2 separate regions of the Homo sapiens genome follow, and region 2 is linked to region 1. The links are contacts of gene promoters, found by promoter capture Hi-C in human tissues and cell types (Jung and others, 2019). All regions are on one chromosome and are shown on one strand. The core of a region is centred on a gene start or on the middle of the fragment in contact, and the rest is flanking DNA. Distances in the headings are between cores, read along the strand shown.

Region 1 (4,627 bases), core at 934-3,433:
CCAGCCTGGGCAACGTGGTGAGACCTTGTCTCTATTATAAAAATTTAAGATAAAATAAAATAAGTAAAATAAAGTCCTAGAACTGAACCCTGGAGTATGCTAATCTTATATATAAGCTCTCTCAAATCTCACAAACATTTCAAGCAAAGGTATAGTCTCAAACCAGAAAACAAAACAAAACAAACAAAAAAACCTGTTTGCTCTATAAGGAACATGCAGGCTTCTAGTCTCCCTACTTAAAGAGGTAAGAGAGTCGATTCCCAGGGTGACAGCTGGCATTGTGAACTTGAGCTAGCAGTTCTACTAAAAGTCAAAGGTATGTTTGTTTAGCATAGGGTGGGGAGATGTCACATGGCCTTAGCATTCTTGAATAGTTTATCCACTGAAGCAGGCCTATCAGCCACGTTGACAACCCTGGATGAAGTAATAGTTTTATAAAAGCTCCACCCCCAAGTGTTTTAATGCTGTAGAATTAGTTTTAAAGTGATCTGTTTTCTCCAAATGTCATTTTTAAAAAAATTCAAAATGAAGAATGAATCCTTCTAAACTCAGCATATTCTTTGTCAAGTTTAAAACTACTTTTTATTTAAACTATTTTAAAAGTCAGCATGTATTCCCCAGAGAAGAAAACTGAGCAAACTTCACTCCAGAAATATTTATCTTAGGGTTCATGGAAGATATCAGTCTACAGGGCATTTCCTAAGGGAAAAAAATAGCTACTAGCAAGCAACTTTGCTTCAACCCTTAAATAGATGGCTATTTTCTGTTACAAAATATGGAGGATAATTACCATGTATAATTAATAACTACTAGATGAATTTTGATAAAACAAAGGGGTTAGAAAATGTTAATACAGAATTACGTTAGGCAGTTATAAAGATATTAGAGAAGTTTCTGTTATGATACTACATTGTAACATGGCACATGTTATTTGAATGATTTTTCAAATAAATAATAAAGAAACTTGTTATGTTATAAACTAAATTCATTCCCCAGATGACTTGAAATGCTGTTATTTTCACAAAATAAAATCTTTAAATATCTTGCCCCAATACTATTTTTTACTCTCTTTATTTCTATTTCTCCCAAATACATTTATTTTTAATAATACTTACTATTCCTCTCACATAGATAGTAAGTTACAAGTAAACAGGGTTTGACTTGAAGCCCACATTGCTGATTGTCACAGCCCTGACCTCTGGAACAAAGGTACAACCACCTCCTCTTCATCAAGTAAGCCCTTGAAGTTAACTAAAGCCAGGATTAGCTCCAACACATGACGGCTGGAGTACGTTGGGAGGAAAGATGGTTTTAGTGTCTTTTGTTTCTTTAAGACCTAAATTTTCTTTCTGAAAATAATTTGAGAATTTAGGAAGAAATACAAATTCCATAGCTGTAATTTATGATACTTTTGTGCAGGCATTAGAGGGCAGAAGCTGATGAAAACGATTCCCAGAAAAATCACTATGTGGGGCTCTATGTTGCCTCTGAAATATTACTTAACCATTTGAGGCCATATCATTGTGCGCGCTCACATTTATCCACATTGCATCGTCACAGCAAGATCCCTGAATTATAAACTAGTGACTTCAGAGTTAATTTTCCTTCTTTCGGTCTAATTTGTAACCAGGGAGCATTGTATGGCACATGCAGGATTGAAAATGCAGGGCCTCCTGTCTCTCATCCATTTCAGATTTCAACCAAACCGTACTTGGAAATAGCATTAAACACACGCTTACAGTTCAATCCGAGGCAGATATGACCTCCTTACAGTTCCAGGAACAGCAGCTTAATTTCAGAAGAATACAGTGATGTGAGAGAAGAGCTGTGCCAGCCCGACTGGCACCCGGCTGTTCTGGTTTCCCTCCCTGGAGCTTCACTTTCCTATTTCTCTGTTATTCTGACATCTCTTTGAGAAAACTGCTGAGTTCAGAAGACAGAAAGAAAGCACTTACACTGCACTGCTGCTAAGCTCATAAGCTATCAAGTGCATTCTTCTGCCTCAGTGTCACACTTACCAGTTTCCAAAGGAGTAATGGTGGTGGAAATGTTCCGATGAGGCCGAGGAGCTGGATGAGAGAATGAAGACTCCACCTAGGTTGAATCCAAGACAATGTTAAGAGGCAGGGCTAAAGACAGGACCCTGGGGGCCAGTTCAAAAATAATGCATGTGGTCAGGCAGTCGAATGTCAGGCCACACAACCAGCCTTTTATGGCCAAGAAGGCAGATAAATATAGCAGCAGATGGGGAGGGTAGTTCCAAACCAGGAGGAGGAGAGGGGCATGGGCAGGTAGCAGCCTTAGTAATATAATTGCATAATGCCGGTCAATGGGTCTGGCCCGATTAAACCAAATATAGGGTTTTTATTTGGCAACAAGAGTTATTTTCAATGTCACTTTATCAGTAGATAATTTAAAAGTGTAATGGAAAGAGTGGTTTGTGTTAACAGCTAAAAATAGGTGTAGTAATATGATTCTCAAAATGGACTTCGTGGAATTTTAATGCCAAGATATGATTCTGAGTGTGCTGTTAACAACACACGTACGGTACATTTAAAAGATACAATGTGAAAAAAGAACTTGAAGCTAACTAAAGGCAAAACAAGGAAGAAATGGGTTACACGTGGTGGCGATTTTTGCCTGACATCACGGTCACTATTTCTCTCACTTCAGGAAAATTTACAAGGTTAAGTCTTAGCTTCAAGCCTGAATATGTGATTTCCTGTTCATTAACTAAAGCCTTTTGAGACGCAACTCAGTGTTTTATCTTTCCTAACTCAGAGTAGGGTCAGTCCATCTAATAAGAGATTCTCTTTCTTTGTTCTTTAAATGGTGTGACCAATTAAGAGGAGGTGTAACCCGGTTGTGAGAGCCTGTGTTGTGGATTCAGACCAGATCTAGATCCCACTATATTGATAGCACTTAGTAGCCATGTAATCTCCAGCAATTTATTTCTCCTTCCTAAGCTTCAGGTTTTTTGTCTATAAAATGGGGATAATCATATCCAAATTATAGGATTGCTGTGGTGATTAAATGTGATACTGCAGACAGAGCACTTGACCTAGTGACAGTCACATAATATAGACTCAGTAAATATCAGCTGTTATTACTGATACCAATAATATAAAAGCTCATTGTTAGATTACATGTATGCAGCAGGTTGGTATTTTGATCTACTGGCCTTATGTTCTGACAGTGATATTACATCAACTGAATAAAGGTCACCTGTGTCTATCAAAATTGTTTTTCTTTCTGAGACAGGGTCTCACTCTGTTGCCCAGGCTGGAGTGCAGTGGTGCAGTCTTGGCTCACTGCAACCTCTGCCTCCCAGGCTCAAGCAATCCTCCCACCTCAGCCTCCCGAGTAGCTACAGGCGCATGCCATCACACTCGGCTAATTTTTTTTTTTAACTCTTGGTAGAAATGGAGTTTCACCATGTTGCCCAGGCTGGTCTCAAACTCCTGGACTCGAGTAATCCACCTGCCTCAGTCTCACAAAGTGCTGGAATTACAGGCGTGAGCCACTGCACCCAGTCTCTATCAAGATATTGAACAGACTCAATATTATAGTATACTTCATCATGACTTTCTTGATGATAACTACAGTTAACACTGTTGAGGACCTATCCAGTGCCAGACACTGGGATAGGCAGTTTATATACATGATCCCACTGACTTATCATACCTTGCAAGGTACAGCTTCATTACCCCGTTGAGGAAAGCAAAGCTTCCAGAAGGGAAGGCATTTGCCAAAGATCACACAGCGGGTAGATGACAGAAACGCAACTTCATTCAGAGACATTTGATTCCAAAGCCCGTGTACTTGTAGTCATGTATTGCTGGCTCCTCCAGTGGCACTTTGATAGTAAGAAACTAGACATTTTGAAATGGCAATACGGGTCTTCACTTGTAATAGACGGTTAGCTTCTGAGCTACTCAAAGTATGTAAAAGAATCTGTTCCACCTAGTTCTGATCCAGGTACCTGTGAAATTCAACCTGGAATTTCTTCATATACATACCTCTGCTATTAGTAAGCATGTGGACATTTTAGCTATCTGGAAGCCATAGGCGAGTTTTCCAAGTGTTATGTTCCCCAAGCATCCATTTGTTCTCTAAATATCCAATACAGAATGCAGTGATTCTTCTCAAGTCTTATCCACCAGCCATTAGGATGATTCCTGGTGAGCTGTTTCTCTAGAGAACATTGGTCAATTGCCCCAAATCTTCTCAAAGCAGAAAAGAGGAAAAATAAACTTATATGCTTTTTAAAAAGTGTTTTACATTAGATGATTTTCTGGGAAATTTGAAATTAACAGCTGGCTAACCACTCCATTAAGTTTTCAGGATAATCACATATCTGTAAGGGTATCATGAGTAAGTGTAATTGACCAGAGTCCACATATATAAAGGAATCATAACTAAGTTACAATAATTGATTCATATGAGCCCAAGTTTTTCTTCTTTAGTTTTATTATCCAGTACATCACCATATGTAATTTATTATGTAGCTAGTTGTAATTCAGATAAATTTGCTGTTAGAAAAACCTGAATCTAGATGATGCCACAGCAGAAAGATCACTTAGGAGATTCTGCTGGGTCTAGCTCATGCTTCTTTTGTCTAAACTTA
Region 2 (4,577 bases), core at 1,758-4,257, 340 kb before region 1:
CCCGGCTCCGTTCCAGTCAATACTGTGTTCCCACACACATGAATGGAGCAAGAAGAGCTGGCTCCAGGCCTCTGGGGGCAACCAATGACTGGAAGGAGAGGGATTTACTAAAAGTCGGCTCTCCAGAGAAATCCCATTAAGCGAGTGTCCCCAAGGGGGCAACGGGTTTTGGTTCTGTGCAGTTTTAGTAGCCTGTGTCAAAATAAAACCCAGGTCAGTGCTGTAAACACAAGGCAAGGAGCCTTGCCTTGTGGAGCAGCTGGCGAGATGGTCCCCTGGGATGATTCCCTCTGGGACATGTGGGTATTTTCAGGGAAGATTCCATTCGTAGGTCTGGAATGGATGTCGGGGGAGAGAGAAGATGGGTTGATGGGGGTTAGGGATCAAGACGTGAACAGATGCGCGCCTGCTGCTGATTACTCAACAGTCTCATGAATCCCCAGCGCAGCCCTGTCAGGTAGAATATTCTGCGATGATGGAGATGTTCACGCTGCCCAACACTGCAAGTGCGGCCACTGGCATTTGTGCTGTTAAGTCTGTGAAATACACTAGTTTGACTGAGGAACAAAATGTTCAATCTTAATTGGTTTAAATGTTAACAGCCATGCCAGGCGCAGTAGCTCATGCTTGTAATCCCAGCCCTTTGGGAGGCCAAGGCGGGCGGATCACCTGAGGTTGGGAGTTCGAGACCAGCCTGACCAACATGGAGAAACCCGGTCTCTAAGAAAAATACAAAAAAATTAGCCAGGCGTGGTGGCACATGCCTGTAATCCCAGCTACTAGGGAGGCTGAGGCAGGAGAATCGCTTGAGCCCAGGAGGCAGAGGTTGCAGTGAGCCAAGATCGCACCACTGCACTCCAGCCTGAGCGACAGAGAGAGACTCCGTCCTCCCTGCCCCCAACACCCCCCCCAAAAAAAGAAAGTTAAGTATATTAATTTGATTGATTTATTTTTTGAGGTATGGTCTCTGTCGCCCAGGCTGGAGTGCAATGGGTGTGATCATGGCTCACTGCAGTCTCAAATTCAAGGGCTCATATGATCCTCCTGCGTCAGCCTCCCAAGTAGCTGGGATAAGAGGTGTGCATCACCATGCGTGGCTAACTTTTAAAGATTTTTAGTAGAGATGAGGTTTTGCTATGTTGCCCAGGCTGTTCTCGAACTCCTGAGCTCAGCAATCCTCAGTCCTTGGCCTCCCAGAGTGCTAGGATTGCAGGCATGAGCCACTGTGCCCAGCCTAGTATATTAATTTTTAAAAATGGGATGTTATAGTGAACAAAACCAACAGGAATTCTATCCTCATGGGGCTTACAGTCTGGCAGGGAGGACAAACACGGAGTAAGCAAACACAAGTGTGAACTGAGGCGTGTTATGAAGGAGGTCTCAACTTGAGTCAGTAGAAGGAGTCTTTGTGGGGGTGACATCAAGTGGAGGTACTGTCATTTTGTTTTAACAGGGACACTTCCAGTCATATGGTCCCTGGACGCTGACACAACTTTTCCAGGACTTTTTTTTTTGACACCTTCCTTCTCATTAGAATCTCCTGGGCCAGTCTAGTGTCTTGACACGGTTGCTGAACCCATTAAAATGGGAAACCCTTGTTTTCACCTCCGAAAAGGGTTTTAGAGGAAGAGGCGGGCAAAGGAGACTTGGCTGGAATGGGGGAGAGTTCACAGGGGCGAGGCGGCAGGGCGACAGGCCCAGGGTTACAGCCCCAAGGGCCGCCCCCGCCCATACCCAAGGCACCTGTGGACGGGGCTCTCCAGAGGGCTGGGGCACCATCACAGTCACAGCCGAGGCTGGGAAGGGAGCCAGGGCTGCAGCCGAGTCCGCCCCTCCAGCGCTGCGCAGCCCCGCCGCCTTAACTTTTCCTCTGGCTGCGGGTCCCTCGGCTTGGCCACCCCCACACTGCAGTTAGTTGACTGATTCTGTATCGAGTGAGCATCTCCCGTGTGCTCACAGCCCGGGGCCCCTGGGGATGCTTGGGCCGCCTGTCTCTGTTTCATGTCCCCTGCCTGGTCCTCTTAGGAGGGTGGCCGATTCCCTGAAGGGAGGAAGTGGGTCCTGGGTCTGGGGCTTTTCCACTTTGGCTGCACTTGACAACGACTTGGGGACTTTTAGAAAGGTACGAGCACCCTCCACCAATTAAGGTATAATTTTGCTGAAAATTCCTTGGCATTTTCTAAAGCTCACTAGCTATTTTCCTGCAGTGCCTTGGGTGATGAAGAGGGTGACCCAGAATCCTCCTTTGTTGCTCCCCATCCTCTAGGAAAGCTTCTAGCTGGCTACTGTCTTAGTGGGAACCCCTTTCTGCTGGGAAAATCCCAGTAGGGATTTGGGATTGGACAACCCTTTCATCTCCACCTCCCCCTGAGCTCCCAACTGAGCCCGAGGGCTGACTAGCAGGGCCCAAGGCCACCTCTGAGATCCAGCTTTGTCATCGTCATGCGACATCCCTAGGGAGCTTTCTCACCGCAGGAGGTGGCTGCTGATGGATTCCAACTGTTGATGCCAGCCAGGAAGTCCTCTTCCCCATGCTAGACTTGAAAACTTGTCAGGAGCGCCTCAACCTGAACTCCCTTGGCCAGAAACTCAACAGCAGGCAGATTAGACGCGGAGCAGGAGTGGGGAACATGTGTAGAGTGGGAGGGGTGGGGGCTCCAGGCTCCAGGGAACTTTCCTACATTAGGAGCTGGGGAGCTGGCCCCAAAATAAAATTGCCTTGAAAGAAAAGAACAAAGTGTGTTGGCACAGCAAGGCCTTTCTTCCGCTCTGGGGCATGACAGAGGTCACAGCCCGCTGCTGGGCTGGAGTGGGGGCCGTTCCTCTTCAATGGGCACAGGAGTGTGCTCTGCCTGGCCTGGCTCAGCCTCCTCTGAGACAGCTTCATGCAGGCCTGGGCCGTCATCTCCTGGCCGATGAACAAAACCCGAGAGCAAACACATTTCACATTCAGTCTGAATGCTCAGAGGAACCACGTTTTTCTGAGATTACACATTCTTCCAGCATTATGCTCTACTTGAGAACGCAAAACAATCCAGCGCAATGATGCTTTCTTCCCTTTTTACATTTTCAAGGACCACACAGAGGACTCCTGCTAGGTGGTGGTGGGGACCGAGGGCTGGTGTGTACCTGGCCACGGGTGGGATGCTCAGGAATGGGTTGGCCGAAGTGGGGGTTGCCTACCTTCTTACCCAGCCCTTAGGGCCTTCTGGAACATCTCCAGGTGGGGCCGCTTCCTCCAATGTAAGGCATCGCCTGAGAGAACGGCTGTGTGGGGTGCAGGGAGGAGGCTTGGGTTTAACGGCCCTGCCCCTTCCGGGCTGTTTGAACTTGGATAAGTCGCTTAACCCCATGAGCCTCTGTTTTCTCACTTGTGAAAAGGGGAAAATGTATAGTAGGGCCTTGGTGGAGGTGGACAGCAATGAGAGAAGGAAGAGCCTGGAAGGTCTTTCCTCTCCTCATCCTCCCAACTGCCCGAGCAGCCCTTGTTTTTCCATTTTACTACCAGGCTTCCTCTTCAGTTTTCCTTGGAAAAGGCTCTCTGGAGCTTTCTAACATCTGCATGCCTGGCTGCCACCCCAGACCCCTTAAATCAAAACCTCTGAGGGTGAGACCCAGGCGTGGGTATTTTTTCACAGTTTCCTGGGTGATTCTGATGGCTCAGGCTAAGAACCACTGCCCTAAAGATCAAGGCAAACAGGCCGGGTGTGGTGGCTCATGCCTGTAATCCCAGCACTTTGAGGTTGGGGGATCACTTGAGGCCATGGGCTCGAGACCAGCCTGGGCAACATAGTGAGACCCTATCTCTTAAAAAAATTTTTTTAAATTGGCTGGGCACAGTGGCTCACACCTGTAATCCCAGCACTTTGGGGGCTAAAGGGTGGGTAGATCACCTGAGGTCAGGAGTTCAAGACCAGCCCAGCCAACATGGTGAAACTATGTCTCTACTAAAAATACAAAAAATAACCAGGCATGGTGGTGGGTGCCTGTAATCCCAGCTACTTGGGAGGCTGAGGCAGGCGAATCGCTTGAACCCGGGAGGCAGAGGTTGCAGTGAGCCGAGATCGCGCCATTGTACTCCAGCCTGGGCAACGAGAGTGAAACATCATCTCAAAAAAAAAAAAATATGACCCAGGCATGGTGCCTGTAATCTCAGCATTTTGGGAGGCCGAGGTGGAGGATCACTTGAGCCCAGGAGTTTGAGGTTGCAGTGTACCATGATTGTACCACTGCACTCCAGCCTGGGCGACCAAGTGATACTTATCTCTACAAAACAAAAAACACAACAAAAACCAAAGGAAACAGGGACAGTGGAAGGTGCTAGGAGGTCTAATGGGCTTGGCGGGTCCTAGCTGTCGGCAGGGCCCTCTTGGGATTCTGCAGGGTGCCTAGCCAGTCCCAGCGGGGTGGATCCTATACCCAGAGTGTAATTGTCAGTGTGTGACCCTCGGGGAGGATGTCAAAGGTCCAGCACATGATTTGTGCTTTCCTCAGGGAGGTAACTTTGAAGTCCACCTGCCACAGGGCTGGTGCTTGGGAGGGAGTTGCTTTGCTGGGTAACCCCGCTGCTGCTATTG

What was found. The method cuts DNA at HindIII sites, captures the fragments that hold promoters and counts their contacts. A contact is called where the count stands out against the background at its distance.
Region 2: a contact is called between a fragment that was not itself captured here and the fragment with the promoter of MYOM1 in region 1, in 2 of the 25 tissues and cell types used here (aorta and mesendoderm cells).

Annotation. Positions count from the first base shown.
Region 1 is chr18:3,217,785-3,222,411 of GRCh38, forward strand. MYOM1 (myomesin 1) reads right to left here and starts at 2,184. Exons shown (of 38, transcript NM_003803.4): 1 at 2,019-2,184. RefSeq lists a silencer at 187-481. The HindIII fragment of the contact is 14,410 bases long and covers 1-3,346 here.
Region 2 is chr18:2,878,772-2,883,348 of GRCh38, forward strand. The region is part of intron 2 of EMILIN2 (elastin microfibril interfacer 2); the gene reads left to right. Among named protein-coding and RNA genes, the nearest start is that of EMILIN2, 34 kb to the left of the region's middle. The HindIII fragment of the contact is 5,105 bases long and covers 456-4,577 here.